Linked DNA regions of Homo sapiens: all the other regions are linked to region 7. The links are contacts of gene promoters, found by promoter capture Hi-C in blood cells and fetal thymus (Javierre and others, 2016). All regions are on one chromosome and are shown on one strand. The core of a region is centred on a gene start or on the middle of the fragment in contact, and the rest is flanking DNA. Distances in the headings are between cores, read along the strand shown.

What was found. Contacts are between HindIII fragments. The CHiCAGO score rates a contact against its expected background, and 5 or more counts as called.
Region 1: a fragment that was not itself captured here is called in contact with the fragment with the promoter of ACTR6 in region 7 in 3 of 17 cell types (total CD4 T cells, total CD8 T cells and naive CD8 T cells); the score reaches 9.8 in total CD4 T cells.
Region 2: a fragment that was not itself captured here is called in contact with the fragment with the promoter of ACTR6 in region 7 in 1 of 17 cell types (total CD4 T cells); the score reaches 5.8 in total CD4 T cells.
Region 3: a contact is called between the fragment with the promoter of AMDHD1 here and the fragment with the promoter of ACTR6 in region 7, in 1 of 17 cell types (total CD4 T cells). The highest score is 6.2, in total CD4 T cells.
Region 4: the fragment with the promoter of SNRPF here is called in contact with the fragment with the promoter of ACTR6 in region 7 in 1 of 17 cell types (naive CD8 T cells); the score reaches 6.0 in naive CD8 T cells.
Region 5: a fragment that was not itself captured here is called in contact with the fragment with the promoter of ACTR6 in region 7 in 1 of 17 cell types (total CD4 T cells); the score reaches 6.7 in total CD4 T cells.
Region 6: a fragment that was not itself captured here is called in contact with the fragment with the promoter of ACTR6 in region 7 in 2 of 17 cell types (non-activated CD4 T cells and total CD4 T cells); the score reaches 7.9 in non-activated CD4 T cells.

What each region holds. Positions count from the first base shown.
Region 1 is chr12:95,474,436-95,478,358 of GRCh38, forward strand. METAP2 (methionyl aminopeptidase 2) reads left to right here. Exons shown (of 11, transcript NM_006838.4): 2 at 1,636-1,743. Among named protein-coding and RNA genes, the nearest start is that of METAP2, 2.2 kb to the left of the region's middle. The HindIII fragment of the contact is 2,850 bases long and covers 515-3,364 here.
Region 2 is chr12:95,210,767-95,214,431 of GRCh38, forward strand. It overlaps FGD6 (FYVE, RhoGEF and PH domain containing 6), which reads right to left. Exons shown (of 21, transcript NM_018351.4): 2 at 1-501. Among named protein-coding and RNA genes, the nearest start is that of FGD6, 4.9 kb to the right of the region's middle. RefSeq lists an enhancer at 3,204-3,283. The HindIII fragment of the contact is 1,169 bases long and covers 1,685-2,853 here.
Region 3 is chr12:95,941,669-95,945,701 of GRCh38, forward strand. It overlaps AMDHD1 (amidohydrolase domain containing 1), which reads left to right and starts at 1,663. Exons shown (of 9, transcript NM_152435.3): 1 at 1,663-1,867. The coding sequence starts at 1,731. CCDC38 (coiled-coil domain containing 38) reads right to left here and starts at 946. Exons shown (of 16, transcript NM_182496.3): 1 at 763-946. The HindIII fragment of the contact is 927 bases long and covers 1,426-2,352 here.
Region 4 is chr12:95,857,346-95,860,988 of GRCh38, forward strand. It overlaps SNRPF (small nuclear ribonucleoprotein polypeptide F), which reads left to right and starts at 1,607. Exons shown (of 4, transcript NM_003095.5): 1 at 1,607-1,731. The coding sequence starts at 1,729. It overlaps SNRPF-DT (SNRPF divergent transcript), which reads right to left and starts at 1,494. Exons shown (of 3, transcript NR_135014.1): 1 at 1,409-1,494. RefSeq lists enhancers at 1,316-1,931, 1,330-1,389, 1,440-1,499, 1,620-1,849, 1,880-1,929. The HindIII fragment of the contact is 4,587 bases long and covers 1-2,349 here.
Region 5 is chr12:96,913,394-96,917,473 of GRCh38, forward strand. The region is part of intron 4 of NEDD1 (NEDD1 gamma-tubulin ring complex targeting factor); the gene reads left to right. Among named protein-coding and RNA genes, the nearest start is that of NEDD1, 8.2 kb to the left of the region's middle. The HindIII fragment of the contact is 2,298 bases long and covers 1,668-3,965 here.
Region 6 is chr12:96,029,816-96,033,786 of GRCh38, forward strand. All of the region lies in intron 1 of LTA4H (leukotriene A4 hydrolase), which reads right to left. Among named protein-coding and RNA genes, the nearest start is that of LTA4H, 3.8 kb to the right of the region's middle. RefSeq lists an enhancer at 3,067-3,236. The HindIII fragment of the contact is 170 bases long and covers 2,421-2,590 here.
Region 7 is chr12:100,198,382-100,202,140 of GRCh38, forward strand. ACTR6 (actin related protein 6) reads left to right here and starts at 2,434. Exons shown (of 11, transcript NM_022496.5): 1 at 2,434-2,538. The coding sequence starts at 2,471. RefSeq lists a silencer at 1,378-1,737 and enhancers at 2,230-2,524, 2,498-2,697, 3,542-3,759. The HindIII fragment of the contact is 11,223 bases long and covers 1-3,759 here.

The DNA.
Region 1 (3,923 bases), core at 690-3,189, 4.7 Mb before region 7:
CTGATTCTTGGGCCTGACAGGGTGGCAAAGCCGGGCTATAGATTCCTAGTCTGAGAAGAGGCGTCATCTCCTCCTGTGGGACTAGAGGGCTGGTGGGGGAGAAAAGAGTGCCTGAGGTTGGCGTGTGGTACCTCTGGGGTCGCTGGGCCCGAGCCCCTGTATTACCAGAACTCAGCTCCCACGCACATCGTGGCACGGTCTTGAGATTGTGCGCAGAGCACAGCCCTACCATCTTTCGCGCGATTTGGCCGCCGCCTCAAAAATCCGATTCTGATCCGTATTGCCGCGTCTTTGCTGGTTTGCTGGAGCAAGCTAGGACTTATTTTCTTTGGGGGTGGGCAAATGTAATGGAGAGCACACCTCCTCCCACTATCCCGTTTCACGTTGGGGTTGTTGCAGCCTGCACTTTTGGGGTGTGTGTACATGTGTGTTTGCCCGCGCGCTCATGTCATTAATTGCAGAATTTGTGGTGGTGATAACGAATTTTCACCTGCCTAATCCCATAGCATCGCCAAGCTTTAGGGCCTTTAGACCTGAATTATGATACCAATTGCAGGCAGTGCAGATAGGATATTCTGTGGCTCAGAATGGAACTTCTGAGGTCTTAACCTCTAAATCCACTGGTAAGGCAAGGAGAACTGCTGAGAGTTTACAGTTGGATATTATGAACTAGGAACTTACATATTTTGAGAAGTCTGTGTTTTTGCTGCACAAGCTCCTTCACCTTAATAAAAATTATTTTTACTTGTTTCTAATTAAAATCGCCAGAGAAACAGAAAATGGAGAAGTCAGAAGCGATTAAGATGGAATTGAGAGAGGTCGAAGAGAGCTAATCTTCATCTTTCTGAAATTTTGATTAGATAGGAATGGAAGGAGAGTTGTAGCGTTGCTGGAACTCTTCCAGAGCAAAATTTGTTACTCTGGTGGCTGTTCCTGGATTTCGAGTGAAATTCAAACACTGCTGTTTGTCTTGTAAGGTGTTAAGCTGACTGATCCTAATGTATTTTTAACAGTTGTATTTCTTAATATGAATTCTCTCCAGTAGCCAGAATGTCACTTCATTTCGTGCTACCTGATACTATTAATGCATGTAACATATTGCTCTTATAGGTAGGTTATAATCACTTCCAGAGCAGGGGCCTGGTCTTGTGCTTAGATATTTGAGCGTTTTAGTTTTTTAGTAATGGACTGTCTTTGCCTATTTATTTTGACTTTACCCAGCCCATCGTGATATCCTTATTCATGAAACCAGGCTGCCCCGGGGTGTTGCACATGAATCTTTTTCCTAAGGCCTTCAGCATTTATTACCTATCTGGTGTTTAAGTATTTGTTAAGTCTAATTGCTGACCACTATTACAAGTTAAACTACTTGAGGATAGAGACCAGTTCACGCTGTTTATCTTTTAGCTGCTAGTGTGTGTAATGGATATTTTGTTGAGTAAATTAATGAATGGACAATACTGTGTAGGTATGGAAGATTTTTCTGTCATTAAACGAATTCTGTTATGTTCACAATAATGTTTCTGTTTTTGTTTCCTGAGGAAAGGATTTGTAAGTTTTCCAAGATCATTAGAGCATATTCTAGTGGGAAAGTGTCTGTATTAGATTTGATTTCTGCTATTTTATTTTGATCAGCAGGGGAACAGGAACCTGATAAAGAATCAGGAGCCTCAGTGGATGAAGTAGCAAGACAGTTGGAAAGATCAGCATTGGAAGATAAAGAAAGAGATGAAGATGATGAAGGTAAATGGTTAATTTGATCTTTGTGGTTAGAAAAGCTAGAAAATGTAGCCGGGTGTGGTGGCACACACCTGTAATCCCAGCACTTTGGGAGGTCGAGGCGGGTGGATTACATAAGGTCAGTAGTTCGAGACCAGCCTGGCCAACATGTTGAAACCCCATCTCTTCTAAAAAGACAAAAAAAAATTTAGCCGGGTGTGGTAGCACACACCTGTAATCCCAACAACTTGGGAAGCTGAGGCAGGAGAATTGCTTGAGCCCGAGAGATGGAGGTTGCAGTGAGCTGAGATTGCACCACTGCACTCCAGCCTGGCCAGCAGAGTAAGACTGTCTCAAAAAAAAGAAAGAAAGAAAGAAAGAAAGAAAAGCTAGAAAATGTGATATTCCTTAATCAAAATTTATTTACTCGTATAGTGTTTTCTCTGACATTTCACTTGTTACCTCAATTAATGTCACAGATTAAAAAGGAAAAGGTATTTATTAGCAAGTCTTGAAAAAGTTCAATGTGTTAATTAGCTGTTCAGATAGGACAGATCTCAGAGTTTAAAAATATACTTGGTAGAAGGCAAAGTAGTGAGTATTAATAAGATTGAGGGGTTGTTTATTTAACTAATACTTACTGAAGAACTACTATGTACTAGATACTTTCCTAGGTTATTTTCACATACATTCACATTTTAACCTCACAAAACCAAGCAAAGTAACCTACTTGTGCTTAGATATCCATTTTGTTTTTTGGTAATGGACTGTCTTTTCCTATTTATTTTGACTTTACCCAGCCCTTCATGGCTTTACCCAGCCATCTCATTTTACAGATAGGGAAGTGGTAGTTACATGATTTACCCAAAGTGACATAGCTAATATGTGTAGAATAGAGCCAGAATTTCAAACCTAGTGCCTGACTGCACGTTTGTTCCTTTTACTCTCTATTTTTTTTTTTCTTTTTGAGACCGAGTCTCGCTCTGTCGCACAGGCTGGAGTGCAGTGGCGTGATCTCGGATCACTGCGACCTCCCGAGCTCAAGCAATTCTCCTGCCTCAGCCTCCCGAGTAGCTGGGATTACAGGCGCCTGCCACCATGCCCAACTAATTTTTTTGTATCTTTAGTAGAAATGGGGTTTTGCCAGGTTGGTCTTGAACTCCTGACCTCAAGTAATCTGCCCACCTCAGCCTCCCAAGGTGCTGGGATTACAGGTTTGAGCTACTGTGTCCGGCCTGTTCCTTTTACTCTCTATACCAAAATTAACTCTTTTCATTCTGAAAGAATCGTATAGGAGTGCACTAAGTTTTATTATAAATTCCTTGACCCTAGCTCCTTCTGGGTGTTTGGGTACAATAAGATTTTTTTAAAGACAGCAACTGCTAATTGATGTTATCAGTAAAACAGTGAAGGAAGAGACAGGTAAGAAAACTTAACTTTTTTCCAGCCTCTTTTGGCGGAGGAAAAATGGGGCTTTCCCATTCTTTTTATTTGTAGCTGCCTACTACTGAGAACATCTGCTCCCCCTCAAGCACCACCAGCCTGGGGTTAGGTCTTTAACCATTAGTTGGGGCTGTAATTATTGTGTTAGGGTAATGTAGAGTAGTTGTTTTCCTTTAGAGTGGTATGTTCTCTGCCTTCAAGAAGCTTATAGTGAACATTTGGTGGAAAAAAGTGCCAAGATTCAAGGGAATTACTAGCTTTTCCTCTTCCTTAAACCTCTGTTCTACATTGGCTTATGCTTTAGATTATGAACTTATTTTGAGCTCTTCACAAGAAAATGTTTTGTAAATTCAAGGCAATATAATAGATTGCTATAGACCCACTGTGTATATGGTATCATAATGCTTCCTGGGCCTGTCAGGCTAGTTAAAAAATATTGGCTGGGTGTGGTGGCTTATGCCTGTAATCCAGACAAGCCTGGGCAACATAGTGAGACCCTATGTCTATACCCGTCCACCTCCCCCCACCCCCCAAAAAAAATCACAGTGCTAATCTTGAAGTGTTATCTTGTTCTGTTACATCTCTACAAAGTTGCCCATCAGGTTGGAAATCTTCAATGTATTAAAGAAGATTTTAGGAATATTTGTAGTTATTTCAGTAATCAGAGTCAGTCAATACTACTTACCTGTTGTTAGGTCTTTGAGGGAATGGAAAGCTAGTGTTTCAAGATCTTTCTCCTAATGGAAAACTAGACCAGGTGT
Region 2 (3,665 bases), core at 1,019-3,518, 5.0 Mb before region 7:
CAACCCCACCCTGGTTCTTGGCTTTTTCACCATACAAATCACATTTACTCCTAGTTTTTATAGTCAAAGTCTCATCAATTTTACTGTTTTCTAAATTTTCATTCATTTCCAGGGGCTCTAAAACAAGCTGCTTTACACACAAATTCTCTCTATGGCCCAGCTTATGGATACACTCAGAACTGCAGGAACACATTGGTGAAATATAATCATTGCTCTGATTGCCTTCATATTTACAATTAAAGTTGTCAGTGCTTTCAGCTAATTCCTGTTTATGCCCTTCCAGGTTCAACATGATTTTCCTTGATGGCGACTGCCCAATCTCTCGAACAGGTGAGGTCTTCAGGACTTTTGGTTTTGGGGCTATTGCTGGTTTCATTTTCTTTGTCGACTGTGGAACACTAGAAATCACAATGTCGGGTTTAGGTGCAATAGGAGGTGGGGCTGGCTTATTATTTGCCACAACAAACTTGGGCTTGGGGGCCACTGGTGGCTTCTTTATCTCTAGAAAGGAAAAAATAATAATTTGATGTCAAAACAACCAAAGCACAAAATGATACATGATTAAATCTGATAGCATTTTTTATTTTTAACAATATGACCTTGCCTTTTACTGAGTATGTTACATTATATAGTATCAATATTACTCCTGAAAATTCCTTAAATTGTCTTTCAATTCCATACATAGCTTTGGGTCTATTGTACATTTTTAAATAAATCCAATACAGTTTGTTTCTCCAGCTTTGGAACTGTTACCATATCTTTTTTTCTTTTTCTTCTTTTTTTTTTTTTGTGAGACGGAGTCTTGCCCTGTCGCCCAGGCTGGAGTGCAGTGACATGATCTCGGCTCACTGCAACCTCTGCTTCCAGGGTTCAAGTATTTCTCCTGCCTCAGCCTCCTGAGTAGCTGGGATTACAAGTGCGCACCACCACATCCGGCTAAGTTTTGTATTTTTAGTAGAGATGGGGTTTCACCATGTTGATCAGGCTGGTCTCAAACTCCTGACCTCGTGATCCACCCACCTCAGCCTCCCAAAGTGCTGGGATTATAGGCGTGAGCCACCGCGCCCAGCCCATCATATCTTTCATTGACAAAAAATGAGATAATTGACTTCAGTTTGGGACCCACATAGTTGTTCTTCAATTCATTTGCCAAGTGCTGAAAGTTGAATTTGCCTAAGTTAAATGTAGGATGCAGCTCTTTAAACTTCAGATCAATGATCAATGATCTGTCTACCTCGATAGATAGAACCCCAAAACAATATTAAAAAAGGAAGACAGAAATCAGAAATTTTCTAAATTTAAAAACTGAAAATTAATTCTTTGGTATTATTTAAGGCTCATAATAAACCTGGTATTTCTTTCTCCAAGAGTTATTGGTTGGGAATTTTCATTATATTCCTTCACGGAGCTCTATTTTTTAAAAAGTCACATGTCTAGGTCCTACCCTAGAGTGAACTAGTTAGTTTCTGGGGATAGATCCTGGACATCTGTACATCTTTTAAGTTCCACAGGTTATGTTGTTTATCCCTCATTAACATCCACTGTTCTACTACATTTAAAAGATAACTACAATTTCTAGTGTAGCAATTCTTCCTAAACATTATATATAAGGTATTTAACTAACACCTATTATACAATGCTGCATCGGTACAGATCTGCTCCTATACTATAGGAACCTAATAAAAGCTTTACACAACAGACCTATAAAGCGAAAAGATAAATAAAGCCTGTATATCTGTAAGTTCCTTTATGTTCTTCCACCTACACTGTCATATTATTGACCACATTTCCCCAAGGAGACATGTCATAAAAAATATTTTATCTTTTACATTTATATTTGTTCGTTTGACAGGATCTAACACTTAATAAAAACTTAATTTACTGAAAAAACTTTTCAAAATATCTGCTGCAAAGGACTGCTGGACGTTGTTTAATTACTTGAATAGACAGGGGCTCTGATATTTCATTTGGTGATGACTTACTTTTGAACAAAGGAAATTAGTCACGACACTTGGGAAGCTATTACACGGAACTGAGTTTTTTTAAAAAAAAGAGGAGTAGGGTGCTCTACTTCCTTTTACCAACCAAGGAAGAATTCCCTAAATCTCTACTTCTATGTGTGCAATAAAGATTATATGATGTATATGATGATACATGTCCTCTCACTCAATTTCTAGGTATAATGTCATCATCAATAAAAAATTATTTTCAAAATAATGCAAATTCCTATACTACATAATTTCAGTTAGCTGTTCAATCATCATAGTTAATTTTGTCTGAGTTTTTTTTAGGCAGAAAATAACTGAAAAACCCTTCAAATCCTAGTGAGAAACCTAGTTGTAAATGTCTATTAAATCAAACCCTCCATTTAGTAAGTCAAGTCTTAAGAGAAAGTATGAATGCCTTAGGCCTCTTCCCAACGGCCCATCTTACTCAGTACGACTGTCAAGTTGATTTTATTTCTGTAACCATTATCAAAACATCCTACCTCTGGGATTTTTCAAAGAATTTTTTAAAAATTAGTTTTGGCAGCCTGGCATAGTGGCTCATGCCTGTAATCCCAGCACCTTGGGAGGGCAAGGTGGGAGGATTGCTTGAGCTCAGGAATTGGAGACCAGCCTGGGCAACACAGTAAGACTCCGTCTCCATGAAAACAAAAAAAATAGTTTCGTAAAATGAAGAGTTCTTGAGATTGGATGTACCATGTGAATGTACTTAACACTTCTGAACTATACACTTAAAAATGAGTAAGACGGTAAATTTATCTTATGTGCTATTTTACCACAGTTGGAAGAAAACTTCATCTCTCATCAAATTAATCTTTTACTTTCCGTATCTTAGAACCTTGTCAGAAGCTTTAGGGTCATTTAAATATCATTTTTAAAAAATCCCTGGTACCAATTTTACTCTTTTTAAAAAATGCGTTTTGTACACAAATCTGCTTCCAAGAGATATAAATTCCTGTTCTAGTGTCACAGAAATTCAATTAACTACGTATGTGCTGGAGTTGATTCCCAATAAATATAGCAAAGTCCTATTACGTACATAAAACCCTCAACGCATACTCACTGAATTCAATTAATAACTGTGAACTTGGGCTTGCCATTGTTAGTTAACTGTGTATTGAAGGAAGTCACAGACATAACTCAGGGAGCTGGCTAACCTAATTGTGGGCCTTGTACAGACCTGGCTGCCTCACTTTCCTTCCTTATAAATGGGGGAGTTGAACAGGCCTCTAAAGCCCATAGGAATCTGAGATGATAACTTCTGAGACACTCATTTCAGAAGAACCTCATGTACTGTGGCCTCTGTCTCCTGCGTTGATGTTTTTTCAGTTCACCTTTGTCTGTGTTCAGCATAAGACACAAGCTCCAGAAGGGCAGGCACTTTGTCTCATTCACTGATGTATCCCAGTGCTAACAACAGGGCCTGGGAATAATCACAGCTGCCACATACACATACTCTTTAATATGTCTCCATAACAGAAAATTTCTTCTTTAAAAATAATCACATTCAAAAATGTACATCCATTTTAATGTAGAATAATATTTTGAAAAGTTAGCAGGAATCAATTTCAATACGATTATTGAAAAATTCCTTAATTATTAATAGGAACAAGTGTTCAACTAAGTCACTGGTAGAGCAATATCCAAAATCCTTCATTA
Region 3 (4,033 bases), core at 413-2,912, 4.3 Mb before region 7:
TAGAAAATTTTAATATTTCTCTGTGAATTAGTGACTTTATGTGTTTCTATTCCCCACTATTTCTACTTCTCTTTTTAAAGACATAGAAATATATGTATGTATAAACTTTTTAAAAGCTATGCACACACACACACAAACAACCTGTTTGTGATTGTGTATATGAGCTGTGAATAATCTTCTGATGCCCCCTCCCCCCCACCCTTAGGGTCTCTTTCACTCACATTGTCTATATATTTTCCAATTTTTATCTTTCTCTTTCCTAACTGATCTCTCTTTTATAGGCCATAATATGAAGCTAAATTATATTCTTATTTATCGTGGTCATCTAAAGGAGTGTTTGCTTTCTGTTCCAGGTTTTTTTAATGAGACTAAATTAACTTTTATATTTTGTGGGTTTGCAGGCTTAGTCTGCTTTTATAGTATATTATTTGTGTCCACATCTATCACTTTTATTGTAAAGTCTTTACTGGGCAGGGAAAGCGCCTTTCCTATCTTTGTATGTTCCACAAGACTTAACACAGAGCTTGTGATAAACATGAATAAACGAAATCAAGTAATTAAGGACTCAAAAGCCTGGGCCTGGCAGTGTTTCCATAGCAATTGGTAGCAGGAAGCGACGAGGCTGAGAATCACAGACCATCTTCCATAAACTTGATTCTGTCTCCAATTTTGGTCGCAAGTTGCTTGTAGGCCCACCAGACACAGCTGAGGGGTGGGAGGGGGCATGCGGAGGGGCGGACACTGAGCTGAAACCTATTTTACCTCAGCGAGTTTGGATCCAGGAGCCTTTCCAACCTATCGTTCGGGAAGGCGTTGTGGGAAAAGTGGGCGGAGGTGCCAATCGATCCTCCAGTCTCGGCTCTATCCTCCCCCAGCCCGGTTCCCGGTCATCTCAGGGACCGTCTGGTAGCTGATCCCGGAACGCAGCTGGCCAACGGATAAGTGCGGGGCACCCGCCACCCGCGCGGACCCAGGAGCACCTCCCCTACCGCATCCCCCTCCTCCCCACCCCCAGGTTCCCTCGGCTCGCGGCCCTCCGCGTCCCGGGCTCCCGCCCCAGAACCTGTGGGCAGATGTTTCCTCCACGCAGTACCCTCCCGGGGCTCTGCCTCCAGGCTCGCGTCCCAGCACCCTAGGCAGAGGTTTCCCCCACTCTGTCCTCTCCCGGGGCTCTACCTCCAAGCTCCCGTCCCTGCCCCTGGGCACAGCTTTCCCCTACTCTGCCCTCTCCAGGAGCGCTATCTCCAGGCTCCCACCCCAACCCCCCGGGCAGAGGTTTCCCCCATGGCCCCCCTTCCGGGGCTCTACCCCAGGTTCCGGTCCCTCACTCCCGAACACTCCGGGTGCCCTCACCCAGCCAACCCTTGACGCGCTTCCACATACCACGTGATCCACACAGCTCACTTTGATCTCTCGGGGTGACCAAGCTTAAGTTTCCTTATCTGAAAAGTAGGGACACTAGTCTCCATCTCGTTTACTCGGGATGGGACAAGACGACCAAAAAAGAGAGGATTCCTCATCAGGTTTATTACTCGTTGCCATTCTTGCAATGATTACCGCCCCCGTTGCTGTGGTTGGGGGAGGCGAGCAAAGGGCAGCGGCTGCGAGCGCCCGCCCCCGCCCCACCCTCCCAGCCCCGGACAGCGCAGGCTGCGGCTTTTCGTCCTCCACTGAGTCCTGCCGGTGGCCCGAGCCCGGTGGCCTCCCGGCGACCCTCGGCGCGAGGCGACATGGCAAGCGGCCACAGCCTCCTGCTGGAGAACGCGCAGCAAGTGGTGCTGGTGTGCGCCCGCGGCGAGCGCTTCCTGGCGCGGGATGCGCTGCGCAGCCTGGCGGTGCTGGAAGGCGCCAGCCTGGTGGTGGGCAAGTAAGTGGCCGGGCGCGCAGGGTGGGGACCGCCACGGGCGGAGCTGGCCGCTCTTCCTCTCACTGTGCACTCTGGAGGGAAACAACGCCGTGAAAGCGTCCCTGCACAGAGATACACGGGCAAGCCAGCCTTTGGGGTACCTGTTGCTAACACGCTCTGCTGCTTGGGGTTGTCATTCCGTCCAAAGAGCTCAGAGAGGAACACCCCATTGGAACGCATCAGGGTCCTGCCTCTGCTGGTAAAATATCACTGTCCAACCATCAGAAGGGGTTGAGGTCCTCCCCAGTGCTTCTTAAAGGGAGGCCAGAAGACCACCTTTGTCAGGGTGGCCTGTGGTTATTTTATTCTTACGGCAGATTTCTGATTCCACCTGCGTCCCCCACTCCCTATCCCTAGAATTTTAGAATCAGCATCACTGGGGCTGGAGTTCTGAGACCTGAATTTTTCAAAAGTACCTTTCACATCCTCGTGATCTCGTACACTAAAGCTTTAGAACCACGGAGAACATTTAGACGATAATGGCCCTGAGTGATAATAAATCAAGATTTGACCATCAGAAAACAAGATATTTCTCTTACTCATCTGAGCTTCCTGCCAGATATGAATAAAAGAACAAAGTTTGAGGGCGACCTGGGGTAGCAAGGGAAGTTGGATGAGAATTTGAATCCAAAGCGTGCCATGGGACCACAATTGCACACGATCAATGAGTCTCACAAACTGACCACGGCTTATCTGAGGCAGTTTAGGGTTGTGCAAGAGCCCAGCTTTTAAGGGACTGTGGGTTGGTTTAATTTTATTTATTTATTTATTTATTTATTTATTTATTTATTTATTTATTTTTGAGACGCATGAGCCACTGCGCCCAGCCTATTTTTTGTTTTTTTGAGACAGGGTCTAGCTCTGTTGCCCAGGTTGGAGTGCAGTGGCATGATCTTGGCTCCACCTCCCAGGCTCAACTGCGATCTCCACCTCCCAGGCTCAAGCCATCCTCCCACCTCAGCTTGACAAGCAGCTGGGACTACAGGTGCACGCCACCACGCCAGGCTAATTTTTGTATTTTTTGTAGAGACAATGTCTCACTGTGTTGCCCAGGCTGGTCTTGAACTCCTGGGCTCAAGCCATCCACCTGGTTTGGCCTCCCAGTGCTGAGATTACAGGCGTGAACCACCACGCCCAGCTTGACTGGTTTATTTTTAATTAAGGGATGAAAACATTCCCAATTTACTATGAAAATATTATTTAAAATTTTGCTTAGAAAGTTGAAAAATATGTACCTGGGTTGGGACTGGAGTATCTTATAAAAATTATATCAATGCGACCAGGCACAGTGACTCACGCCTGCAATCCCAGCACTTTGGGAAGCTGAGGCAGGTGGATCACCTGAGGTTGGGAGCTCGAGATCAGCCTGGCCAACATGATGAAACCCCATCTCTACTAAAAATACAAACATTAGCCGGGCATGGCGGCGCACGTCTGTAATCCCAGCTACTCGGGAGGCTGAGGCAGGAGAATCGCTTGAACCCGGGAGGCGGAGGTTGCAGTGAGCTGAGATCTCGCCACTGCACTCCAGCCTGGGTGACAGAGCGAGACTCTGTCTCAAAAATAAATAAATAAATACATAAATAAAATGATACTAATGCACCAACATGAAGTCCTGGGTTCCAAGACATGTTCTATGTTCACATCAAAACCACAAAAAGTAGGGAAAGGAAAAGGAGGGAGCTGACTTGTGGTCTGGAAGATGGGGCTTTTTCATTTGAGTCTGCTACATTGTTCTCACAGTTTGTTGGATTTATTACAATGAAATAAATTTACAAGAATATTGAGAACTTTGCCATTCAAATATGATTAGCTCGGTACAGGATGGTGTTGTTTTTATTTTCACTTACTATCATCACTGTCTTATATATTAGGTTGGTGCAAAAATCAAGTATAGAATTGGAATAATTATCTGGTTATTTGAGATGCTTTGAAATATATCTCCCACCTCATTATCTGAATGTTTTAAGGTAAAAGTGTTTTCAGGGTGAATTATTTAGGTGATTGTCTTAAATTTTCACATCACTTCCCTTATGCAGAACCTGTGTGTTCAAGGACAACTTAATCCTGCTCTTCTTTTGGTAGACAAGAAGAACACAGGCTGTGAGTGTGAGTGTGTATAGGGAG
Region 4 (3,643 bases), core at 357-2,856, 4.3 Mb before region 7:
TGAAAAATGAAAGTACCTCTTATTGGTCCCCTCCCGCAACCAATCAGACTGGTTGTGGGCCAATGGGCAACCTCTAGAGGGTATTTAAAGCCCAGAAAATTCTATAACCAATGCTCTTGAGCCGCTTGCACCAGGCGGTGCCCACCCTGTAGAGTGTACTTTCATTTAAAATAAATCTCTGCTTTCGCTGCCCTGCTTTGTTTGTGCGTTTTGTCCAATTCTTTGTTGAAAACGCCAAGAACTCGGACAGCTACCCTCAACTGGTAACAGTTACCTGCTGGGCCTACTTCCTCATCTCTTAAACGGGGCTGTCACCCCGAATCAGACAGTAAGGTAAGATTTCCACGATTGTTGAAAAAGCCTGACACATAGTAGGAACTCAAAGTCTATACAAAGACTTAAAGTTCATAAAACAATAGACAAACGGAGAAATCCACTGAAGTTTAGGGTGAATAAATCTAATAACTGTTTGGTAAAAACTACACTGACAATCATTGTCTGGTCAGTGTTCAACATTTACGTGAAACACTGAGCTTTTACAAGGCCAAGCCCCGTTTTACGTTAAATTCTCGCAACCACCCTGAGGATGGTTCCGTTTTTAAAGCCGCGTTCCTGCCGAGGAAACAATGGCCCTCGGGGTTAAGACACTGCCCAACACCGGCCGCGCCTGATAGACGCAGGTTCCGAATGCAGGCCCCCTCCAAAGTCTTGCCCACTGCTCCACAATGCCTCAACACCCAACATTTCATCCTCAACTCCAAATCCATCTCTTCAGGGCCGCAAAAAAGCGTTACTTCCCAAAGGGCGTGTTCTCCAAGAACTGCATTTAGCATTTCAGATCAGAGTGACCCGAACTCAATAGGATTACGACAAAAACTAGTGAGATTCAGATAACACCGTTACATCGAAAGTTTTAATCCGTGACAGAGGAAATATTGCTTACGCCCTTAGGTAATTTCAAATGCACGTATGAAGGCCGTGCGGGTTTCTGCAGGCGAAGCAAAAGAAAGGTGGGGCCGGCAGGGTCGTGGGGCGGGGGTGGGGCATGACACCGTATCCCAGACGCAACTCGACCTCGTTTGCAAGAAATTCTGTATCCAACTCTCTTCAGTGCGTTTCGCCGCCCCTAGTCTAGTCTGGCTAGCCCCCAATTCCTTTAAAAGGGGTTAAAACGGGTGTTGCAGAAGAGAGAACACTCAGGTAGAAAGGGCCTGCGGCAGAGGCGCCCCCAAATCATGGAACCTGTTGGAAGAGTGAGGAAGGAACTCTGGGACCCCGAACATTCTCACGGGTGTAAAAAGACAAAGTAAATCCCCATTAGCCAAGTTGGGGAGAAGTCACATCCGTTACACAGCCTCTCCCAGACCGCCCTCTAGGAAGGACACCACATTTAAAAACACCGGCCTGCCTCCAGTCCTTGGCTGCCTCACAGCGATGCTCAGAGCCGGTTTCCCAAGGTCCGCGCGCCGCCTGCAAGGCGCAAACCCAAGCCGCTGCTGGTTGCTAGGAGATACTGGGCCAGCCATCTCCTCCAATCAGCACGCACCTCTTTGCGTCCAATCACAGAGGCAGGAAGGGCCGTGGTGGGAGGTGAAAGGTCATAGTCCTGTTTGGCGGCCATTTCTCTTGAAACTGCGGCTCGGGACCTGCGGTACCTGCTGTAGTCACGAGGGACGGGCGGCGGCCTGGTCGGCAGAGAGTAGCCTGCAACATTCGGCCGTGGTTACGATGGTAAGGAGAAAGAGAACGGCGGGAGAAGCGGGGAGAAAGAGAAGGAGGGAGACCAGCCTCGCGGGGCCTGCTGGTTCCTTCGCGCGTTTCCCATTCATCCGCGTGAGGCGCCGCGCACCCTGTCGCCAGCTCCTTTCACTCTGCTTTTAGGTTTCTGAGGCGCGTGCTCCTCCCGATGCCTTTCTTTTCCTAGGAGTGCCCGTGCCTTCTTCTCTTTGTTTGAATCCGGGCCTGGGGTATTCTTAGTTGGGGCTATAGGGTCGGGGTAAAAGTCAAAGAGAATTTGCACTTCCCACTTAACCACACTCCAGAATTCACTTTCATTCCGTGAAAGTAATGATACGGCCATGCTCTAGATTAACTCACTTGGGTGGGGAAGACAGACATTAGTCAAAAAATAACAAGTATGTAATTGCAAATAATAAGTGCTAAGAACAATGCAGACAGGAGGCTGTGAGGGTGCGCGTTAGACATTAGAGGCTTAGTCAGAGATGGCCTCCCTAGGAGGTGGAATTTAACTCGAAGCCTAAGTGTCATGAAATACGACCCTTTAAAGAGCAGGAGGAGGAGTGTACCGAGCACAGGGAATAGGAGCATAAGACCTGCGGCCGGAAAGAAAGCTTGGTCATTTGGAGAAATTGACAGAAAGGTATAGCCACTTGCGCGAATAGTGGTTAAGAGATGGTATCGGAGGAGCAGGCGTTGGGCAGGACCTCTTAGGCTGTATTGGGAGGTTTTGATTGTACTCCAAATCAATTTAAAATGATTCGGTTGGAAGCCATTGGATCATTTTAAGCAGAAATATGACAATCTGATGTGCACTTTAAAAAATCATAGTTACTGTGGTGGATAACAAATTGGAGAATGAAAACTGGAGACCCATTAGGTTATTGGAGTAATCGCCATATCAAGATCACTCCGAATATGCTCATGTTAGAGGGGGTTAGTAGCCAAGTTTCTTAGTTCTCTTCTTTGTTTGACTGGTGAGTGAGCAGAAGAGGGCAAAAACCGAAATCACTGGAGATGTTAATGGTTTGCTGAATAAATAGACATTAAGTAATTGCTGTAAGTAAGAGGCGGTGCTACTGACAAAGTCAGATAGGACCTAGCCCTAGCTTCCCCAGTTAAATACTGTCAAGCGTGATCTGCCCTCTGCTTCCTTCTGTAGTTTTATATTTGGGGCTTTGACTGACAATGCTGAATTGTATGTCCCCAAAACCACCTTGTTGCATCACTCTTCCCTCCTTTTACATAAGTAGCTAGCCTTGCCTGGAACAGCATTTTTTCCCGCTCTGGAAATAAACTCTTATCCTTTAAAACTGAGGTATTACTTATTTCAGGCAACCTTTCCTTTTTCCCCTGGATTGCTTTGGTACCCTTGTGCCTAGTATATCTCCTTTTACTACAGTGCAGCATGCAATATAATTATTTGTATGTGAGGAGTTCCCCTCCCCATCTCCAACTTCTTGACAGGGACTCATTTATTTATTTATTTATAAGAGACAAGGTCTTGCTCTGTTGCCCAGGCTGGAGTGCAGTGGCCTAATCATAGCTCACTGCAGCCTCGAGCTCCTGGGTTCAAGCAGTCCTCCCACCTCATCCTCCCTAGTAGCTGGGACTACAGGTGTGCACCACCACACCTGACTATTTTTGGTAGAGATGGGGGTCTCACTATGTTGCCTGGGCTGGTCTTGAACTCGTGACCTCAAGTGATCCCCCGGCCTTGGCCTTCCAGATTACTGGAATTACAGATACGAGCCACCCTACCTGGCCCGCTTTTTTTTTTTTTTTTTTTTAGTGCCTTTATCTTTGTTTCTTTAGAGCTCAGAACAGTGAGTGATGTAGGTAGTCAGTGTATCTTAAGTGAATAGTCAGTGTTTTGTTTTGATGGGTTAAAGGTGAAATTGGCTAA
Region 5 (4,080 bases), core at 1,567-4,066, 3.3 Mb before region 7:
GATGGAGTCTCGCTCTGTTGCCCAGGCTGGAGTGCAATGGTGCAATCTTAGCTCACTGCAACCTCCGCCTCCCCAGTTCAAGCGATTCTCCTGCCTCAGCCTCTCAAGTGGCAGGGATTACAGGTGCCCACCACCACGCCTGGCTAATTTTTGTATTTTTAGTAGAGACGGGGTTTCACCATGTTGGCCAGGCTGGTCTTGAACTCCTGACCTCATGATCCGCCCGCCTCAGCCTCCCAAAGTGCTGGGATTACAGGCATGAGCCACCACACCCAGCCTATCCTTTTGTTTTATAAGTTAATCCCTCTGATTAAGGATAATACTGGCTTCTTCATTTCTAGTCACACACTCTTTGAAAGCTATTTCTTTTTTAAATAAGATAAGATTTAAATAAAAAGATATGGTAGTTGATAGCTTTTTTTTTTAATTTCAAAGTTTTTCTAGCAGATCTTAAATTATTATGAATTGTCATAATTTTACACACTGGGATAGGTAAAGTAGCCCAATTAGAAAGAAAACAGCAGGACAACTGAATAAAAGCTCAACTAATTTAAAGAGGACTCATGATTTTTATCAATCCTCTCCTAAAGGTATCCAGTGGGATTGACCTGAACTTCAGTTCTAACCCACAGATGTTGGAGACTGGGACAGAGGGAACATGTGCTAACAGTAGAAATGGAGTTTGAGGCACTCTGTTTAACCTGACTTAAGCAGAATCAAGGCATAGAATGTCTCTGGTCGATAAAGGCAGACTGAAGTCTTCAAGAGCAGGCAAAACATCTTAACCATCTTTGGATCTTTGTATCCTAAGATGTTCAAAAAACTTGTTAATGTCAACATCAAAACAATTTCAACTTCTACTCTACCACTATATATATGTACTACTGTTATGCATTATGCCTTAGGATCAGTGAATCAGTATTTGGGAGCTTTTTTTTTAAAGTATAAAAATAACAGATGGTATTTACAAGTGTGACATAATTCTAAGAGTTTTGTGAATATTCCAAATTAGTTGCTATGATTCTTAGCCCTCTTTCCCATAGTTAACAAATTGTATCATAATGCTGTTGGATAAAAGTAAGATTAGTTGAGTTCAAATTTTCAATCTATTTTAATTTAGTTATGAAAATATTTGGAAACATTGGTTTTTTAGCTTTTACTAGTAATGTTTACAGAAACATATTAATGTGCTAATAACCTTTTTGTAACTTCCAAGTCCTCTTACTCGTGTATTATTTGAGGCATTAGACCTTTTCTACTTGAGAAAATAAATTATGATCTTACTGATTTTAAAATTTTAGAGTAGAACTTTAAGTTCATATTTATTTTCTTTGATTTTGTATTTCACCTCTTTAAAGTAGAATGTACCTTTGCCTTGCACCTTGAGCAGTTCAGGATTCCTGTAATAACCACACAATTTCCATTAATTATTTAAGTTCATTAGTTGCATTAATAATACATTATCATAAAAAAGACCTATCAACAGGGTTAGCCAGCTCTAAATATAATTTTTATTTTGAGCCCTTAAGAGTAATTGTAGTTGTTGTGATGATTGGAGTCCCAATATATTGATCTTCAATGGACACCATCTTTTTCTATTTTATTTAAAGGCTGTTTTGATAGTTCTTAGCAAACTGTCCTGATTTGCAGTGACAACCAGATTCTAAAGCTTCTTAGTCTCCCTCAACTAAAGTCAATTCCTAGAATGGTATCTGCAGGAGAATTACAGCAACTATACTGAAACATTGATGTTGTGTGCATCTTGCTATTTTTATATGTTAGTTGATACTCTTGGTCAAAATTTTAGAGCTAGAAGGAACCCTGGGGTCCACAGAAGTGAACACAAATCTATTTGATTTCCTTGAAGCATTTTTGACCCCCTTAAAAGCCGTTGGATCCATGTGGAAGAAAGACAGTAAGAGAGTGGCTCTTTAGTACAAGATTAGCATGTTTATAGTATTTGAACGTGCAATGGGGGAAGGGCTAGAGGAAGGGGATCATATGCACCCTTTAAAGAATCTCTTTTGAGCAGAGGATATTTCTGAGAAGCATGGATTCTCAAAGTAAGAACAGTAGATCTAGTCTTCACCTTTCGTTTCTCAAATGCAGAAGCATAGGCTCAGAAAGGTGAGATGATTTGCCTAAACCTACATAGCTTGCCTTTTAACTTTTCTTGAAGTCATGAAATGTCTCCTTTGAATTTGAAGAATCCAAGGATGCACTGTGGAAGTTCCAACTAATGTGACTTCGTAGTGCATCTAAAGGTTACTTAGGAAAAAAATGCAACACTGTTCTGTATAGCATAGTTACTGATGGCACCACCAAATTGGTGACACTCAAAGATACTCACTGAGAAGAACTTGACAACATCTGTATTTTAGCCATTCTATAAAGATGGAGCATGGATATGGGCCTTGTGCTAGTGAAACTGACATTCTGGCGGGGGACAGGCAGTAAACTAGTAAACAAAAAATACCCAGATATTGGTAAGTTATCATGCAGATAACTAAAATAAGATATTGTGATAGCAAGTTACATTAGGTAGCCAATGGAGGTCCCTTGAAGTGTGGTGGCACTTAAGTTGATATCTGTTGACCAGAAAGTCTTCCAAACAGGGTTCAGTGAATTTAGCTTTCTAGGCAAGGAGAATAGCTGTGTAGAAGCCTTGAGGCAAATATAGGGTTGTATATTTAAGGAATGGAAGGTCAGTATGGCTGGAGAATTAGTGGATGAGGAAGAAAATGGTAACAGATGAGGTAGGGCCCAAATAATAGGACTTTGAAAGCCAGGTAAATGTTTGGAGTTTATTCTTGGTGTGATTGGAAGCCGTTGAAGATTTATTATTATTATTATTATTATTATTATTATTTTTAAATTATACTTTAAGTTTTAGGGTACATGTGCACATTGTGCAGGTTAGTTACATACGTATACATGTGCCATGCTGGTGCGCTGCACCCACTAACTCGTCATCTAGCATTAGGTATATCTCCCAATGCTATCCCTCCCCCCTCCCCCCTCCCCACCACAGTCCCCAGAGTGTGATATTCCCCTTCCTGTGTCCATGTGATCTCATTGTTCAATTCCCACCTATGAGTGAGAATATGCGGTGTTTGGTTTTTTGTTCTTGCGATAGTTTACTGAGAATGATGGTTTCCAATTTCATCCATGTCCCTACAAAGGACATGAACTCATCATTTTTTATGGCTGCATAGTATTCCATGGTGTATATGTGCCACATTTTCTTAATCCAGTCTATCATTGTTGGACATTTGGGTTGGTTCCAAGTCTTTGCTATTGTGAGTAATGCCGCAATAAACATACGTGTGCATGTGTCTTTATAGCAGCATGATTTATAGTCATTTGGGTATGGAAGGAGACATGATCTGATTTACATTTTTAAAGTCCACCCTACTTATGAAGGATGGAATATAGGAGAGCAGGAGTGGAAACAGGGAAACCAGTTAGGAAGCTGCTGTCGTAGTTTGGTAAGGTTTGGGTTAGTGTTAGTAGTAGCTATAGATAAAGGGGAGCCCATGTGGGATTCATTCTTGGGTTGGAGTTTAGAGAGCTTACTGATAGATTGGAGGGGAGGGAGAACAAGAAATCAAGGGTTATTCTGGGTTTTTATCTTGAGAAACTGGATGGTGTCTTTACAGAGATGGGGAACAGTTGAAGTCAGGCTTTGATGACCTGATGTCTGAGACTTGGTCTCCTTAACGGAGATTTGCTGGAAGACTTAGGGCAAGTATCTTGACTTCTTTAAAAAAAAACTTATCCCATCGGTAAAATGAGGGCTGTACACTGGAAATTCTTTTAAAGTCTCTTCTATTTTTAGCATTTTTGAGCTGGGGATTGATTTTAATGTAGGATATTCTGTGGAAATACAAGAGCAGGCTTTATCAAGAGGAGATAGGATGGGCAAACAAGCCCTGATGGGAGACCAGGACTGCCAGTGTTTTCTAAGCTTCCTGTGTCGTCACCGGTCCACAGAAGTGAATGCAAATCTATTTGATTTCCTTGAAGCATTTTTGACCCCCTTAAAAGCTGTTGGATCCATGTGGAAGAAAGACGATGAGA
Region 6 (3,971 bases), core at 1,256-3,755, 4.2 Mb before region 7:
CTCTTTAATTATCTCTCAACTAATCTCTTGTCCTAGAATCTTGAACCTTCCTATGCCACAAGACTGTTTCCTAACAACATAAACAAAATTCTACTTGATGGATCTACCCACTAAATATTCTAGTTTTCCTCCTTCCTTCCTTAAACTCCAAGGGAGTTTTTGACTGCTATGACTACTACTTCTACTTCTTCATTAATCATCCTCCCTTTCCCCTTCTTCCATCTGGCTTCTTGCTATTGAAAGGGCAGCCCCCACCCCGATCAACAAAGTCTTTTCTGTCCAATAACCTTGACCTCTGTCTACTCACAGCCCTTATGGACTATGTCATCTGGTTAAAACCCCTTCCTTCACTTCTTTGCCTGTACGCATACATCATAAATGGTTCTCTATTTGTCTAATGTTTTTTTCCTTTCCCCTCCTTTATTCCAATTCAAAAATATGGATATGTCCCAATGTTCCAGCCCCGGTCCTTTGATTTTCTTGCCATATCCTTCACTCCCTAGCTCTTACTCATGCCCACATCTTCAATTAGTATCTCTGTGAAGATGCCTGCCATTCTAGTTCTACAGTTGTATTCCCTCCCCAGGACCTCAGTCGAATCGCCTGCTCAACATTTCCATGGGACATAGCACCACACATTGAATAGGCTTCTAAAAATTCCAAAAATGATTTTTATACTCCCTGAATCAGATTTCTCCCCAGATTTCTTGATTCTGTTAAAAGAACTCTTCCAGTTACCTAAGGTTTGATCCCATTTCCCAACCCCACACAGCCACTTAAAAGTTGTTCTTTCACAATGTCTTCATACTTTTCCTTTCTTTCCACTACTAACCCAGGTCAGGCCCTGGACTGGCAGAACTGCTTTCTACCAGATCTCCCTACCTCTGGCATTATTTTTTTCCTTTTCTGAAATCTGACCTGGCTACATGTGAGGCCAAGAACCAGCCATTTCCCAGCTGCCCCTGGGTACTTTCTTTTGGGGGTACCTCATTTGTTATCCTTACTCTAAATTAGTAGAAGATACGGTTTATATCTTATTTAAAATAATAGGGTTACTCCTTCATATTCTAGTACCTCTCTAGTCTCTTCATAGTCTAGTACCTAGTTCTGAATAGCTATTCAGAATAGCTAACTTGTTTTAAAAACTTGATTTGAGTATCTTGTGTTTATAACACATGCTTATATAGATGAATTAACTGGGTCATTTCCCAGTGGAACATATTCTGTTTTCTATATTGGCTAAACTTTCCAAATCTGTTCAGAATCAGAAGTGTCATAGTGACAACTATTTTTTGTGAAACGTTTTGATATCCCCTGTGTCTGTTATAGCTCTTGGCCCTACCCTTTCCTATAATACTTACTGTACTGCATTATAATGATTTCTTTTTCCATTAGACTAAGGGTTCTAAAACAGAGAATGTTACTTAGGTCTGTATTCCCAGGGTTTAGCACTCTGCCTCAAAAACACTAGGTGTCAATTAATGCATGAAGCAGGTCCTAGACCAAGAGAAAACAAAAAATGCAATGTTTAAGCTGTATTATCTCAAGTCCTAAGTCTCAACTATCATTTGCAAACTACTTTTTAAAATTCCCCTTCAAATTTCAGCGATGTTATTTTTAAAAAATAGTCAAAAACTGTAATAAGAAAGAAAAATAAAGAAAACTGGATTGTTGACAAGTTGGATTTAGTACTTTTTAAGAAACGTGTTAAGCATCAACAGCTCTACTAATTATAGGATATAATTTATATGTTTCACAGTATCCTCTTTGAACAATACCCTCCATCCCCCTAAAAAGCAGTTGTACTTCTCAGTAGCTGGTCAGTTGACATGGAATAGGTATCTGATTCCTTTTTTGCACAGGCTGGTAGGAAGCTCCATGTCAACCCTGTGGCCCACTTCTTTTAAAGTATAGAGGGCTTTATGCCATGGGTTTTGTTTCTCCTATCCCTATTCTCTCTTCCTGCAAATTATTTAATTATTTTTAATCTTATACTATATATGTTGCTTCAAGCAGTCTCAGTCCTTTCTAGAACAAAGCAGAGTTTTTTTAAAAAAAGCTTTATGCCTCATTATGATGTCTAAATTTACATTTTCTACTTGCTATGTGCAGGGATATGATGAAAAAAAATAGGTTTATGTGTGAAACACAAAGCTAAAACTAAAAAACCACCTTGATTTGATTCCCAGTTGAGACATTTACTTAGTGAAAACAAGATGGTTTGCAGTCAGAATTACCTATTGTTAACTGCTGGCTTCTGCCTTGGCCATGGCACTAAAACCTCTTGAGCCACTAACCAAAAGAACACCTAAACATTTCTGAAGGTTTCAGTGAAAAGAAACAAATGTATGAAAGTTATCATAAATTTGGAGGATCAAACTTCAGTGTAAATAACCCAAAACTTGAAAAGAATTTTAGAAAGCTTAGAATTTGTCCGATTAAGTCTCCTTCAGCATTCCTCAACATCACAAACTCTAAGAACGGAGAGGAAAAGAAGACATGACGTCTCTCCTGATTCCGCACTGGCACTGGGTCTTCCCATCTCACCTCTGAAATACAGCTGGCACTATTATCAATGTAGCCCATGTTAAGCTTAGGCACTGTTTTCTAATTGAAATCATCCATTAATCAAACTTTTGAATGTCCTCTACATGCCAGACATAGACTATACTAGGAAGCTGAGATACAAAGAGTTATGAAACACAGTCTCTACATTCAAGAGTCCACAATCTAGTGGAGGAAAGAAACAAGTTAACTTTAAATAAATACTAATTAACTAATTAATAAGGATAAGCTCCTGGTCTAAGGCTTTTGTCATAAATAAGCAAACAATTATAAACATGTTATTTTGTACCATAAATTGCCTTCCTTGTATAACATGTAACATTATTATAATTCCAGGCTCTAATTTGCTAAACAGACATGCCAACCAGAAATCACTATTTTAAAATCTTACTTTTCTCTAGATTTGGGGAATGTAAAAACAATGAGCAGATTTTTAGATTGGGACATTCTTTTCAAAATTTAAACATCCTGACTCTTGCTTACTTATAGAACAGAGATAAAGTTTTTATTCTACAAAAGTGATGAGAACACATGGATACACAGTGGGGAACACACACTGGGGCTTACTGGAGGGTGGAGGGTAGGAGAAGGGAAAGGATCAGGAAAAGTAACTAATGGGTACTAGGCTTAATACCTGGGTGACAAAATAATCTGTACAACAAACCCTCATGACACAAGTTTACCTATGTAACAAACCTGCACATTTGAAGTACACCTGAACTTCAAATAATAAATTTTTTAAGTTTTTATTTTACAAAACAAAGGTAAGTGTGAGGTCACATTAAGCAGCAAAAAGCTATAAAAATTTTCATTCTTTTACTTTTATCAGCATAGTTTATAATTTAATTTTTTTAAATAAAGGTGAAGAACAAGAACTTTCCAGTTAACTAAGAGCTTTGAGTGGGTTTGGGGCTTAGTCAAGGTTTTATTATATCTTAAACCAATTGGAATATTTCTTCTGAAATATATGTTGCAGCTAAAGATTCAAGGAAGAATTTGCTGTTCATATATTAGAAAAACCTCTTTAAATTTCTTCCACTAGCGACCTCGGTTTTGGTTTGCAATTATTCACATCTGAACACAAGTGTCCTGAATTGCTTAATTTTTAAATCTCTAGTACTTTTGAATGTAGGACGTATAAACTCATGTTCAAATATGGCAGTCTCACAGTGTGGTTTTTCTTTTTTTATTATTATACTTTAAGTTCTGGGGTACATGTGCAGAACGTGCAGGTTTGTTACATAAGTATACACATGCCATGGTGGTTTGCTGCACCCATCAACCCGTCAGCTACATTAGGTATTTCTCCTAATGCTATCCCTCCCCTAGGCCCCTACCCCCAACAGGCCCTGGTGTGTGATGTTCCCCTCCCTGTGTCCATGTGTTCTCATTGTTCAACTCTCACT
Region 7 (3,759 bases), core at 1,184-3,683:
GGACTCCTCACTCTACTCTCCTGCTTCTGCATTATTTTTCCCATTATGTCTCTTCGCTGGAGGATTAAAAGAGCCTCAAAGAGCAAGGCCTAACTGGCTGAAGTGACCCCCTCCCACCTCTCCTGGACAAAACAAGGAGCAAGAAAAGAGGGTCTGCCACTTACTGGCTGTGTGACCTTAGCTGGAGCATCCCTGCCCACTCTCGGAGGAAATGTAGTGGAATATCTCTAAGGGCCCTGCCATTTCTGACTCTTTTTGTCTATAGTGCTAAATGCACTGTGGCTCACGTCTGGAATCCCAGGAAGATGGGTGGGGAGGATGGTTTGAGCCCAGGAGTTCGAGACTAGCCTGAGCAACATAGCGAGACCCCCATCTACACACACACACACACACACACACACACACACACACACACACACACACAAAAACCATTTTTTAAATTAGCCAGGCGTGGGCCTGCACCTGTGGTCCCGGATACTTGGGAGGCTCAGGTGGGAGGCTCAGGTGGGAGGATCACTTGAGCCCAGGCATGAGGCTGCAGTTAGCTGAAATCACACCACTGCACTTCAGTCTGCACAACAGAGCGAGATCCTATGGCAAAAAGAACAAATAAATAAAAATAAAATAAATGTACTAACATTTACTGAGCAGTTTAGAGTATAATTAGTTTAATCTCAACACCCCATGATATAGATACTACTGCTATCTCATTTTAGAGGACGCTGAAGGGCAGAGCGGTTAACTGATGTACCAAGGTCCTAGCAGAGTTCTAAAGGAGGCCCCTGGGGCAGAAGCCTACGGTTATGAATGCTTGGGAGGGCTGCACCGGACATCCACGGGATGCTGGGGGTGAGAAGACACTAGAGAGGGGTCAGAGGGAAGGAGCAGAGGGAGATAATGGGTCAAAGTGTCTGAGGAAGGAGACTGGGCTGGGTAGCCCCAGCCACCCGGGCCTAAGCCCAGGTGGAGGGGAGGAGATAGGAACGAGGACGGGATGTGGAGAAGTGGGGAAAGGCAGGCCGACGTTGGCAGGGTGCGAGGAGGCCTTGGAGAAAGGAGGGTGGATGGGGCAGGCCCCCAGGGGAGGCAAGGAGCGCCGACAGAAGGGCCCAGGCGCTTGCAGGGCGCGAGTTCCCACCTCAAGCACCGTGGCGGCTCCCGCGCTGCGCACCTGGAAGTGCGCAGGCTGCTCCGCCGCCTCGTCGGCGCGCTGGTAGCTGAAGCAGGCTTCTGCTATGTCCAGGTGGCCGAGGGGCAGCGGGTCGTGGGGGTTCTTGAAGTAGCAGAGGCAGCAGCGGCGCCCGTCCAACACGAACCGACGGCTGCGGTAGCCACGCAGTCGCGCTGGTTCCCGCGCGGTACCCGCCCCGGGCTCTGCAGCCTCCCCATCGCCGTCGCTGCCCTCCTCTGCCCGGGTTCCGGCCCCGGTATGGCTGCCTGCGCGCCAACCGTTTGTTCCCCGGCCCCCGCGCCTTCGCGCTGCGGCTGCTGCGCTCCCTGCCCCCGCGGTGCCCCCTTCCCGCCGCCCCGCTCCTCTCTCAGGCGCTCAAAGTGGCCTGGAATTTGTAGAACGCCCCCCTCCAAGCCCGTTGGCAGTTGTCCTAGCCCGCTGGCCCTTGCCCCCGCCCGCTGGCCGTTGCCCCCGCGACGCCCCGGAAGCCAGGTCCTGCCTCCCGCACCTGCCAAGTCCCCGCCCTGCCGGAGTCTCGCTCTGTCGCCCAGGCTGGAGTGTAGTGGAGCCATCTCGGCTCACTGCAACCTCCGCCTCCCCGGTTCAAGCAATTCTCCCGCCTCAGCCTCCCGAGTACTTGGGATTACAGGCGCCCGCCACCTCGCCCGGCTACTTTTTGTATTTTTAATAGAGACGGGGTTTCGCCGTGTTGGTCAGGCTGGTCTCAAGCTCCTGACCTCAAGTGATCTGCTTGCCTTGGTCTCCTAAAGTGCTGGGATTACAGGCGTGAGCCACCGCGTCCGGCCCAAAAGCCTTTTTTGGATGAGAAAGACTCACTCAGCTTCGTCCTGAAGAGCAAGTGGGCTGGGGAAGAGGAGAGTATGAATGTGAGTCCAAGAGCAAGTTTTGCACTTTTTTCTTCAAAGAATGTCACCGTCTGAAGAATGCGATTGGAAGACACACACACACACACACACACACACACACACGCAGCCGGTTCTCTACAGGATTAGAAAAAACTTGCGCGAATTAATCTGCGTAGTTAAAAACAAATACGAAATGAGCGAGAAAGCACATAGTAGTCAAATCTCGCCACCACATAAACAGGTTAAGTTTGGAAGCACAGCCCCTAACATTCGGTGCTGCTTAGCATCTCCGACTTCCGGCGTCCTCCGTTGCTAAGGTGACCAGAGGCGCGTCCTAACGCTCCGCCCAACAAACCATAGAGTACCGGAAAAAGCTCGAGCAGAGGGGTCGGAAAGGGAAAACAACTACGGCTGCGGTGTGGTTGGTGGTGAGATGACGACCTTAGTGCTGGATAATGGAGCTTACAACGCCAAAATCGGTTACAGCCATGAAAATGTGTCGTAAGTACTTTCTTTCTCCGAGGGACAAGATATATACGCCTAGTGGTTTCATGTGCTACGTTTCATCTCCGGACATCAATGAACTGCAGACACCCCCGCGCGGCCCTGACTTAGCCAGAGGGATTCCCTGGTTGGAGCTGGGTGGGTGATTGTGATGCTTTGAATTGAAATTGATTTTGGTTTTAGTTTTGGGCTGCGAGGCCCCGGAAGTGGGATATATGTTTTATTTCGTAACAGGAAATAGCCAAAGAAAATAGGCTTATAGAGATGCGTTCCTGACAGAAGGGTCCGTAAAGTTCATCAGCCTTTGGAAACTATGGGCACGGTGTTTGGGTGTATGCGGATTTTCCTGGGTACAAGATTATAGGTTTCATTAGATTCTCAAAGGGTTCTATGACCCTCCAAAAGTCTAAAAATCACGGTCTTAGGATCTAGAGGCTTTGAAGACTTTGGCCTACTGGCCGACCTAGTTGGTAAGGTCAATTAAACAGAAGTACTGTTAATACAATGGCATTCATAACATGTATAGTCATAAAATATATGTTTGAATAAATAAGCAAACCTAAAGACACGCCTTTCCTTTATCAAATTAACAGAGCATTAAAAAAAATTCTTTCCTTCCTCCCTCCTTTCCTTCTTTTTCATTTCTTTTGAAACAGAAATGAAAGAGGGAAATCAAACTGAGTAGGAATGTAAATTGTTACAATCTTTCTGGAAAACGTTTTGGCAATGTGTATCATTATCATTGTCACCGAGGCTGGAGTGCCGTGGTGCGATCTCAGCTCACTGCAGCCTGAATTCAAGTGATTCTCCCGCCTCAGCCTCCAGAGTAGCTGGGATTATAGGCGTGCACCACCACTCCCAGCGAATTTTTTGTATTTTTGTTAGAGACGGGGTTTCATCATGTTGGCCAGGCCGGTCTCGAGCCCCTGGCCTCAAGCAGTCTACCCGCGTTGGCCTCCCAAAGTGCTGGTATTAGGGGCGTGAGCCCTACACCCAGCTGACAAAGCAATTTTTTTTTTTTTTTTTGGAGAGGGAGTCTGGCTCTCTTGTCCAGGCTGGAGTGCAGTGGCACGATCTCGGCTCGCTGCAACCTCTGCCTCCCGGGTTCAAGCCATTCTCATGCCTCAGCCTCCCAAGTAGCTGGGACTACAGTTGCGCACCACCACGCCTGGCTAAGTTTTGTATTTTTAGTAGAGACGGGGGTTTCACCATTTTGGC